2 separate regions of the Homo sapiens genome follow, and region 2 is linked to region 1. The links are contacts of gene promoters, found by promoter capture Hi-C in blood cells and fetal thymus (Javierre and others, 2016). All regions are on one chromosome and are shown on one strand. Each heading gives the region's core, a stretch centred on a gene start or on the middle of the fragment in contact. The rest is flanking DNA. Distances are from core to core; before and after follow the strand shown. Region 1 holds the start of FIP1L1 (factor interacting with PAPOLA and CPSF1). Region 2 overlaps GUF1 (GTP binding elongation factor GUF1).

Evidence for each region. The method cuts DNA at HindIII sites, captures the fragments that hold promoters and counts their contacts. A CHiCAGO score of 5 or more calls a contact.
Region 2: a contact is called between a fragment that was not itself captured here and the fragment with the promoter of FIP1L1 in region 1, in 3 of 17 cell types (total CD4 T cells, monocytes and non-activated CD4 T cells). The highest score is 8.0, in total CD4 T cells.

Annotation. Positions count from the first base shown.
Region 1 is chr4:53,374,731-53,380,506 of GRCh38, reverse strand. It overlaps FIP1L1 (factor interacting with PAPOLA and CPSF1), which reads right to left and starts at 2,866. Exons shown (of 18, transcript NM_030917.4): 1 at 2,584-2,866; 2 at 1,390-1,434; 3 at 1,243-1,282. The coding sequence starts at 2,668. LOC105377654 (a long non-coding RNA gene) reads left to right here and starts at 2,767. Exons shown (of 3, transcript XR_007058118.1): 1 at 2,767-2,848; 2 at 4,777-4,910. RefSeq lists a silencer at 2,289-2,378 and enhancers at 2,051-2,599, 2,539-2,658, 2,709-2,798, 2,600-3,148. The HindIII fragment of the contact is 4,469 bases long and covers 1,533-5,776 here.
Region 2 is chr4:44,679,576-44,685,351 of GRCh38, reverse strand. It overlaps GUF1 (GTP binding elongation factor GUF1), which reads right to left. Exons shown (of 17, transcript NM_021927.3): 2 at 4,800-4,911; 3 at 4,510-4,658; 4 at 4,149-4,229; 5 at 2,941-3,018; 6 at 2,034-2,117. Among named protein-coding and RNA genes, the nearest start is that of GUF1, 4.0 kb to the right of the region's middle. The HindIII fragment of the contact is 1,070 bases long and covers 2,203-3,272 here.

The DNA.
Region 1 (5,776 bases), core at 1,617-4,116:
TTTAATATGGTCACATAGTCCAACCATCACAACTATCTAATTCCAGAATGTATGCATCACTCCCAAAAGGAACTTTGTATACATTAGCAATCACTCACCCAACTCTTAGTAACCACTAATCTGTCTCTACGGACTGACATCTTTAGCTTCCACATTTGTAAGGTTCATCCGTGTTGTAACATCTACCAGTACTTCATTTTATTGTCCTTGCCAAATAATATTCCGCTGTATGGATATAACACATTTAATCTATCCATTCATCAGTTGATGCAGCTGCGAGGTTTTCTTTTTCCACTTTCTATTAAGAATAATGCTGCTATGAATATTCACGTACAAGTTTTTGTCTGAATATGTTTTCATTCCTCTAAGGTGGAGGACTCACATGGTAACTCCATGTTTCACCATTTGAGAAAATGGCCAGGCTGTTCTTCAAAGCAGCTGCACCATTTTACAATCCCACCAGAAGTGTATGAGGGTTTTATTTCCCCATATCCTCACTAACACCTGTTTTATCTTTTCGATTGCAGCTTACTCGGTATGAAGTTGTATATCTTCCACTTTTTAAACCCAAATATTCCTTAAAATCTTCTAACTACCTCTCCCTCCATTACAGACACTAATGCATGTGGTCAGGGTAAAGCCGACATCTCCATGTACTTCTTTACATGGCTTGCTTTTTGAAATCTGGGGTAAAATTCTGACTCCCTGTATATGTTCTATAAATGAACACTTACATCTTTCTTACAATCTAACAAAGAAATCAACCTTATAACAAATCAGCTAATTACATTTTGAATGCAAACAATACATAGCATTGAAATTACAACCAAACTGCCATTATATCATCAAAAATGTTAATAAACTGGAAAAGCAGTAGTTTGGAGTGTTCCTGATTTACTTAAAAACATTTTCAATTAAGTTAAAATATTTTTATCAGTAGCTTAACGATTATACTGTATACTTCACTACTGAATTCACTTAAGAGTAACAAGTTACTTAACAGTGTAAAATCAGTCCAATCCTAAGTTCAAAAACTTTGTCCTTTAAACTACCAACAAATAGAATTGGCGTAAGATTAGGTCCTGAAACTGGAATAATCCTTAAAGGATTCAATGTCCTCCAAAATGTTGTAAGTCAGTGTTGTAATGAAGCCAATGATTGTAAGAAAATAATTTTGACAACTGACAGAACCATTGTTTCACACAACCTGTGTAATAGGCATCAACAGAAAATTTCACTAACCTGGCATTTTCTTCTTCTGGCCTTTCAACTTCATTTTCATCTACCAAGTAAAATAAACAAATAAATAAATAAGCAAACAAAATAAAGAAACCACTCTTAAAGAAACTAGTATTATGAAAATCTGAAGTGATCATCACAAGCACTAACCTAGGTCCTTTGCCAAATCACTGTGCACATGCACGTCCCATGGGCCTATAAGCACATCCAAAGTTAGATCACCTTATAATTACTTAACAAGATACTTATTTTATGGAAAAAAAAATCAGACTTTACTGCTATAAAAATAAGCTTAAATTTAAGAGGTAATGAAGATTTCCAGATCTTTGTAAAAGAAATCCTACACATTCACATTTCAAAGAGTAGTAACTAATGCTAAATCTTGCCACCAAACGATTTTTTTTTACAAGTTTATCAAAGTCACATCATCAAGGACCTGCATGGTGCCCAAAGTGCACTTTTACTATTCTATTCTAAAGACAATCAAGAATATATGTTTTAGGCAAGGAACAAACATTAACTTTCAAATCTGGTGTTAACAAGCAAGAAGGGATTGTGACTTAAAGTTAAAAACCAGATGTCAAACAAGTACCCTTCTAGAGAGAAGTACATGATGCATTAAATTTATTTTGAGAAAAACAAATACATGAGATGACACTGAAAACTATAAGCCGAAGGGTCATGAGATACCTCCATGATGTAGGTTAAACGGTAGTCTCTTAAAAAAGAATAACTTCACCTTAATACAGGAGACATTCAGAGTTTTCTTTATGGGCCATCTTTCTCTCTCTCTCTCTTAATTAATTATTTTTAAAGCACGACTTTCAGACAAGGAGGTACCCTTGCAGGTGCATTCCATACAAACTGACCATCAAGAAACAAGACGTTAGTTGTACAGCATTAACTTTATTTAGCTATTATTACAGAATGACTGTTTCTGAAAGAAGGGACAGGAAGGGCACCCTAAGGCCACAGGGCAAAAACAGACACCAAAAACCACCACCTCAGAATCGACAGAAAAAAACAAGGGTAAAGAGCGCAGCAGCTAGGCGATCGAGACGCCTCGGGGAAAGCACAGCGAAGCCGGGGGCCAGGACCGGTCACAGCCCCCCAGCCCGGCCCGGCCGCCACAGGGGTGGATGCGCATGGTGGGCGTGGGCCAGGCGGGAGACCGCCGCGGGGACTGGGGGCACGCGCACGCCGCGCTCGGCCTAAGTCAGGCCGGACAGGACTCCCAACCAGAGGCCCGAAGCGGCGGCGCGAGAGGCCAGGGACGCCGGCCGTTTGAGGGCCAAGAGGGGAGGCCTGAGAGAACCCGAGAGACAGAGACAGGAAGTTTCGTACCGCCATAGAGCCACTCTTCCTCCTCATCCCCTCCGGTCCCGCCGCTCAGCTCCGACACTAGGCGCTCGACCTCGCCGGCCGACATGGCCGCCCCGAGCGCAACTTAAACGCGGCGATCAACAGCCCCCTCCAACCCCTTCCCCAGCCTCGCAGCCCCGAGGCGCGAGAAGGGCGCGAACCCGCCGACGAACGAACGAAGAAAGCTCGAGACTCCAATCCCAGGAAGGCGACGGCAGCGGCGGCAAAGATGAAGCCTCCAGCGCAGGTCCGTCTGCGCATGCGCAGGAGACCCAAGCGGCGCGGCGCGTATAGGTGGCTTCGCTTCCGCGGCGGCCACCTGGGCCTGGTTGCGCCTGCGCGCTGAGGTGGGCCCCGCCCCTCTAGGATCCCGGTTTGCTATTTTGCGTGGCTTCCTCCCGTGGCGTCCTGAGTCGGCCAGGGTTCCCCGCCCCCACCCTTCTTTTTAATAACCCGTATTGCCATTGCTGGCGAGTACACCATTGTTCCCTTCTACTCTTCGTGCTCTTTCTTCTCAACTTTTTATTTGTTTTTTAATCTTCAGAAAGGCCTTCTTTTATTCTTTAATCAGCCTTGATACAGAATCATTACCTGTCACTCCCTTTCCTCACTGAATAGAGAAGAAATCACAATCAGTACTATTTCTCAAAAAATTAATTTTCACAGCCAACAAAAGCAAAACTAATAGATGAAGAATGCACTCTCCTTGTTAAAAACCATAAATTACTGTCAAGGTCAAAGACCGCCTCATTCCCCTACCCTTCTCTCCGGAGGTAGCCCTTGCTACAGATGCATATCCTGTTTGGAGTTCATCATTCCGAAATTTCCTATACACTTACTTCATGTGTTGTGCTGTTTTGGTGGGAGAACCTGAGATTGACAAGTCTTAAATAGTACAGTACAGTATAGTATCATCCTTCGACTTCCTTTTTTTTCTTTTTTTTTAGCATCCGTGTCTTGGAGCTCTTTTTCATTTTAGTATGAATCAAACTATATCTATTTTAAGTGCTTCATAAAATTGCATAGTATGGCTATCACAGAGTGAATATGGCTATTTCTCCATTGATGTACACCCAGATTGCTTTTGACTTTACACTTTTAACTACAACAAAAAATGACAATGAAGATCCACACGGCTCCTTGCAGATTTGTCTGTTTCTCAAAGATAGATCATAAAGTATGTACAGTTTTTATTTTAATAGGTAAACCAAATGTTCAGGCCGCTTCTGAAAGCACATCTTCCAGTGAAAAGATGACATACCATGGTTCAAACTGGAGCTCTAGGTTTGTCTAGGTTTTTTGTTTGTTTGTTTATTTATTTGAGGCGGAGTCTCACTCTGTTGCCCAGCTGGAGTACAGTGGTGCGATCTCTGCTCACTGCAACCTCCACCTCCTGGGCTCAAGCGATTCTTCTGCCTCAGCCTCCCAAGTAGCTGGGATTACAGGCACGCACCACCATGCCCAGCCAATTTTTGTATTTATAGTAGAGAGGGGGTTTCACCATTTTGGCCAGGCTGGTTTTGAACTCCTGACCTCAGGTGATCTGCCCACCTTGGTGTCCCAAAGTGCTGGGCTTACAGGCATGAGCCACCACGCCCGGCCTGTTTTTTTGTTTTGTTTTGTTTTGTTTTGTTTTGTTTTGTTTTGTTTAAAAAACAGTCTTACTCTGTAACCCAGGCTGAAATGCAGTGGCAGGGTCACTGTTCACTGCAGTCTCTACCTCCCAGACTCAAACAGTCCTCCCACTTCAGCCTCCTGAGTACCTGGGACTACAGACAAGCAGGTGCCACCACACCTGGCTAATTTTTTATTTTTTGTAGAGACAATGTCTCACCATGTTGCCTAGGCTGGTCTGGAACTCGTGGTCTCTAGCAATCCTTCCACCTAGGCCTCCTAAAGTGCTGGGATTACATGTATGAGCCACCAGGCCTGGCCTCAGTTCTTCATTATACCTAGCAGGTTGTATAGTCAGGCAATCAACCTTTCTATGCTTCAGTTTTCTCATCTATAAAATGGAAAGGCCAAGTTAGATGATCTCTGAGGTCTCTTTCATTTATAAAGTTTACAAACAGGGCATTCGCTTGTCAACAGAGAGAAATCCATTTTGATTGAACAACTAAATGAGTTTTCTTGCTCCTTGATGAATAAATATTGTTTTATCATTTATTTATTTAGCAATTACAGAATATCTGCTCTGTTTAAGAACTTGGAAAATGAAGACATGAGTGAAACAGTCCCACCCCTTAAAGAACTCTGAAGTTATTGAGAAAGACAGAGGGGCAGTAAACAACTCTCCTACAAGAGAAGAGGTGAATGTGTTGTAATAGAAGCACAAATGAAGGGTTTACGCCCAACCAATATCTCACATTATTTAAACAAACCATGTGGTTTTAATCTTTCTTACCTTTGAACACACTTCTGCCAGCTATTCCCAGCTCCCTTATCTTTTTATGATAATCTCTTGCATCCTTCTAAACTCTCTGGGGGTATAATCACCTTTGTGAAATCTTTCCTGAATCCCATTTTATCTCTTCCCATTTGTTTTGCCAGGAACTCTTCCAGCTATGTAGATTCAACAGTGAATAAAACAAAGTTCTTTCTTTTGTGGAGCTTTGATTCTAATAAGAGAGTCAGATAATAAACATATGAACGTATGATATGTCATGATGACAAGAATTGTGAAAAGAGTAAGCAATATAAAATGAAGTGATGGGGTGCAATTTTATATGGAGTGGTCAGGGAAAGCTACTCTGATGAAGTGATACAAGAGACTTGAATGGAGACAGGAGGTGAGCCCCGTGGATTTCGGGGTGACAGACTATCAAACAGAGGAATAAGAAGTGCAAAGGCCCTGAGGTAGAAGCATACTTGGCATGTTCAAGAAACTCAAAATGTAGCTAAAGTATAGTGAGTGAGAGAGAATGCAGATGAGGTCAGATGTATTTGGGGGGTGAGTGGGACAGAGCAACTCACTCCTTCTAGACACCATGCTGCTTCTATGCCATGTGCCTATCACACTGTATAGTAATTATTTGACTATATTTCTGTTTGCCTCAGGCTCTTCGCTAGACCAAGTCCACCTCCAAACAGGGCATCCCATAGCCATCACTTCAATTCCTAGTATAGTGCTTAACGCTGAGTAAATCTTCTTGGTCACTGTTGAAAGTAATAGAAT
Region 2 (5,776 bases), core at 1,488-3,987, 8.7 Mb after region 1:
TGGGCCAGATAATTCTTTGTTTTGGGAGGCTGTCCTGTGCATTACAGGATGTTCAGCAGCAACCAGGGCACCTCATTTACCCACAAGATGCTGGTAGCATCCCTCCCAAGATGTGAAAACCAAAAATATCTCCAAATATTTGCCCAGGGGCAAAACCACCCACCACTGACAACTACTGCTCTAGACTGTAGTACTTTCTTTACAATAGTCCTTAACTTGTAACTATTGAATATACTACTTGATGCTGTCCATCAGCTTCACCCTCCACTCTGTTTCTATCTTTTCCCAGATGGGACTCCAAGATCCATCATTTACATTCACTCTGGTTCAACCACTTTCTGTTCTCTTCTTATTAGAGGCAGCTGACAAAACCTCAACCTTGACTGCATCCAATTATGTGTTTTTTCTATGCCCATATACAGAACAGCTTAACATTACTGGAAAAAAGAAATCAAATAAATGGTCTGGTTCGTTTCTTGTATCTGACAACAAGCTATCTTGCCTATGGGCAGCTGTGCTTCTTATATACTTATCTCCAAATCAAGAAACATCATTTAATGCAATGCAGATTTTAAAATTAAGGTTCTTTATTAATTTTAAAGTATGAAATGGAGGTTTGTAGACAGTGCTCAGTTTAGCAATGAACTGTTATGTTTTATGTATATTGTTTCCTCCTGGATCATAATCTCCTTTTCATATGGATAGTTAATACTGAGCCATAGTAATTTCACATCTGGGCTACCATTAATAGCTGGATTCCCTGTATCTCTTCTTATACCTCTTTGATCCATTCTCTGTAAGGCTACCTGAATGACTGGTTAATTTGTTTCTCTTGCTTTAAAATCCTTCCATTGTCTTAGAATAATTTTCAAGCTCTTCAGCACAGCACGAGTCCCAGCATGACTTGATTCCTGCATACCCCTACAAAGCCTTCTCATCCAATCAACCTTTCTGATCAGTAAACATGCCAAATCTTTTCCTAATTTAAGTCCTTTACACATGCTCTTTTCTCTTCCTGGAATGTTTTTCTGAAAATTATTCATTCCTCCACGTTTCAGTTTATCAGAGACGCTTTTGCTAAGTTATTCCATGTCATAACGTCTCTCTAAGAAAAAAGACTTTTCACTGTTAATGATGGTATTTCACCTAGAATAATAACAATTTGTCGAATGAATTTCCTTGACAATCTCTATCCTAGTCAATAATTCCTATGCTTACTTCTTTGTTTACTTATTTATTGACTGTCTGCAGAAAGGAAGGGGTCTTGTCTGTCTTATTCACTGCCATACTCTTAGCTGGCATATACCAAATAAGAATCTGAATGAATTTTATTAAGATTAAAATCAGAATAGTTAATTGTATTTTAATATAACATAATCCAAAATATAAAACCATATATAACTTGCTCTTTTGAAAATTAAATTAGCTTGAAAGAAAAACATTACATTGCTGTGCTGACATACTTTACACTACCATGTAGTATAGCAGTTTGGCTGTGGCTGTTTAACAAGCAGATCATCATTTCAAAGGTAAATAAAAATTCAAATTTAAAATGGTAGCAACTTTGGTATAAATAAAATCTATTGTTTCCTAGCACTACAACTAGCTTTTTATAAAATAGGTTTTTGTCAGTTCCAAGAATGATACATACAAAAGCCCTGAAATTAGTTTGAACCTGCTCTTCAAAGACAGTATTTCCACTGGGCAAACTGACACACAAGAAATACTGCAGGGAGTTTCAGAAGGCCTGTGTTTTAGTCCTGGCACATTGGCTAACTAAACCTGTGATCTTAGGAAAGTGATAAAACCTTTGAGCCTCAGTTCCTTTAACTACAGCATCGCAATAATTTCTGTATGTCCTAACAATATAAAAAGGGCTTTTGATAAGGATCAAAGGAAATAATAGTAAAAGAAGTTTGTAAAACTATAAAAAACAGCATATAATGCCAGGTTATCAAATACCATGAAATTTCACTTAGCCCAATTACTTGAGACTTTTTTCAAAGTATAATCTTTTTAGGAACGTATTTTACCTTAATACATTCATCACTTGGAATATCAAACACTTTCTCAATTTGGTTTTCAACCCTTTCAGGATCAGCATTCTTCAGATCTATCTTTAAAAAAAAAAATCCATTATGTGAAGTATAATAAAGATAAGATGTATTATGTATTAACAGTATTCGGAGGTAATTAAAAGCTTACCCACTTTAACCTAACTGACCCCTCTACAATATTTTTTCAAAAGCAGTAAAATAATCTATATATTAGCAGTATAATTTAATAACCATGATTGAAAAAGAGAAGTTAAGTAGCAGAGCTTGCAAAAAAAACTTAAGCAGTTAGCTACCCAGGGCAGCAGAAGAGATCAGTAGTAATTTATCAATTAAGCAGCATGTGAACTGATTTTAAAGGTTAAGTTAAATACAACATTAAGTCTGACAACAAGCTGTCTTACCTATGGCCTTCTTTTAAACTTAACTCCATTATCAAGAAATATAATTAAAGCAATGCAGATTTTAAAATTAAGATTCTAAATTAATTTTAAAATATGAAATGGAAGTTTATAGACAGAGCTCAGTTTAGCACTAAATTGTCATGCTTCATGTGTTGTATTGTTTCTTCCTAGATTATAAACTTCTCTTCTTTTCCTATGTATGGTTTAATCTGACAAACATGTTTCATCTGCCCTGCTTCCCTTCCCTACAGAAATGGCCCTCAGCTACCACAAGTTAATTCAGGAGAACTACCTTCTCAATTCTGTGCAAGGGTGAGTTTCAGTTGCACTTCTGTTATATACAATTCAAAGAGATAAATCCCACCAATATATTTAATAAATAGCTGGTGATCCCTCATATAATGAATAGTACAACTGACATTTAAACATTAATTGTACTTTTAGAAAGTGAAATAGCAACACTGTTGTCTCATTGTAATTACCTTATTTATAACTGGAATTACCGATAGCTGTGCTTCGAAGGCAAGAAAGAAGTTTGCTACAGTTTGGGCTTGAATTCCCTGAAAATATCAAGATACAAGATACTGAGATGACCATTCTATTATATATCACAAAACTTGTAATTTAAGACCATTCTATACATCTTCATCAAGAGATTTTGCGTTATGCTAATAATAAAATTAAACAAAATGCCATGTAGCTACCCTTCATGCTTTTCTCTCCAACTTATGTCTTTGGGGTCAATATGAAAATCGCTGATGGTAAAGCAATAATCACATCAAGTAGAGTGAGCCAACAGACAGTCTACTAAGCTTGAGATAGGAAGCCTTTAAGGAAAGGTACACGGCAGCTCAACTATGATACCTATTTTTCCATGCATCTGAATCATCCTCTGTAATAATTCCTTTCAGTTCAGAAAGCATTTATTGGAGGGCCTTTTCTGTGCCAGAAACTACATCAGGCATTGGAGAAACAAAAGATGTAACATGGACTCTCAAGGACCTCAAAGCTTATTAGAGAACACAGTCATCAAGGTAGTTTATAAAGGCCAGTACTGCCTACATAAGGTAGAGATTGACTTTCCTTGATGGGATCAGGAAAGGCTTAACGGCTTAACACAACACGGTCACCACCACCACTAAAAAAAAGTTGGGTTTTGAATGAAGAGTTTGTGAGAAACATGTAACAAAAGTTTATATTCACAGCTCTTACATGGTCATCTGCTGAGTGTCTTTACGGCTTACACAACAAAAGAGCTTAGTAATGTTACTGATTTTTTAAAAACCTAATACTTCCAAATTATTGCCTTAAAATCACCTAAAATGATCTGAAAACTAATGATTTATTCTTAAGATCTGCTAAAAATGGATATAGAAACCTCAGATTAAGAACTGCTAAAGTTGGTGGGGTTTTTTTGGTAAGATGCATTGACAATATGATGTCACACTTCAAAAAAATACAACAATCTTTTGAACAATTCCAATTTAAAAACTAGTCAATTCCAGAGAATGCTTTATTGTAATAATATTTCAGATTAACAGGATGAAACCATATGATTTTCAGTAAGTAACAGATTAAATCTATTTTTCAAACACAAAAATTCTATTTCCAAAACACATTTTAAAGAAAAACTCTTGAAACAACCAAATAGTCATGTCATATCACATCATACAAAATGAAAAATACCTACCTCATTTGCATCAACCACAAGTAAAACACCCTGGCAAGCAGAAAGTGACCTGGATACTTCATAACTAAAATCAACATGGCCCTGAGAAACAAAAATATTGATACCTGTAAATGTGAGTTAATTTTTTAGGAAAGAGCATTATGGCAAATTTATTGACTTTACTTGATAAAAGCTGTTAAATATTCGTTTCTTTTTTGTAGCCTGCACTTTTGAAACAACTGACACTAACATAAGAACACTGAGAAAACAAAAAGCAAAGGCAGATGTTTAATACTCAGTTCAAAAATTAAACAAGGATCTGTTTGCACTACTGACACAATGTTGACTTTAACAATACATGCAAAATTAATATTAAACTTACCGGTGTATCAATGAGATTTAAAAGGTACTGCTTTCCTTCACAATTGTAAAAGAGAGATGCTGTCTGTGCTTTAACAGTGATTCCTCTTTCTCGTTCCACTTGCAATTTATCAAGAACCTGCTTATTATTCTTTGTTTTATCAATTGTCCCTATAAACAGAAACACTTATTGATATTTCTCTGGGCTTTAAAAAAAAAAGAGAATATTACTTATAAAATTAAAATTTAAGAGTAAAAGTAATTCCCAATAACTCGCAGCCATCAGTTAAGTATGTAACATAAATGAAATACCTGTAAGTTCTAGGAGCCTGTCAGCTAAAGTACTTTTGCCATGATCCACGTGTGCAACAATACTGAAATTTCTAATATTTTCAACAGGAAACCTAGACATGTCAAGTTTTTCCTAGAAAGGGGAAATACCACATTTAGGAGTATAAATTTGGCATACTATCAAACAAGTATACCAATTCAAAGAATATTCTTTTAATCGTTGAACAATATCATTTCTAGCATTTATATTGTTTATATTATTATTCTAAGAAAAAGACATGTATGGCTAAGTTCATATTACAAGGAACATCAGTTTAATAGCCAAAGGTAACTATACAGCTAAATCATAATCCCTTAACATTTCTACACAATTTTTAGGGCCAATCAGGAACTGAATTTATTATCGTGAATGGAGAACATGAGACACCTAGAACTTCTAAAGGCCTGAGAATACCTTGTCTAGTAAAACTTTTGAGGCAATGGAGCTACAGAAAAGCTGAAAGAAGATAAATTTTCTGCTCCTATCACACATTTAATCAGGAATCAGATTTATTTAAAAATCTGTGTCTCTAATGGAGCCTCAAAATTTTATTTTAAATACAATTTTGCTACTTTGCAGCTTCTCTGGTGAGAAAGAAAAAAAGATGACATCCAACAAAAGACTTATCACTTAAAACTTAAAAATATTTTAAAATGGAACTCCTGGTTTTTCGTGTACACATCTTCTTTAACGTTTTACTGAAACACATCACAAATTGCTAGAAATTGTTATCAAGCAAAATATACCAGTTTTTTGTACTCTATTTTTTTCCAATCAACTGCATATTTCACAATCAGCAAAACCATGAAATTACAATGAAATATAAAATTCACGTGAGCTTTGTTTTTTAATAGCCCCATAAAGACAGATAATAAAAGCACAATTATAGCTGAAAGTCTGCCGAAAAAAAACTAATTCTGATGTTTGCCCTGTAGATTTTCTTTCCCTTCAGTTCAAA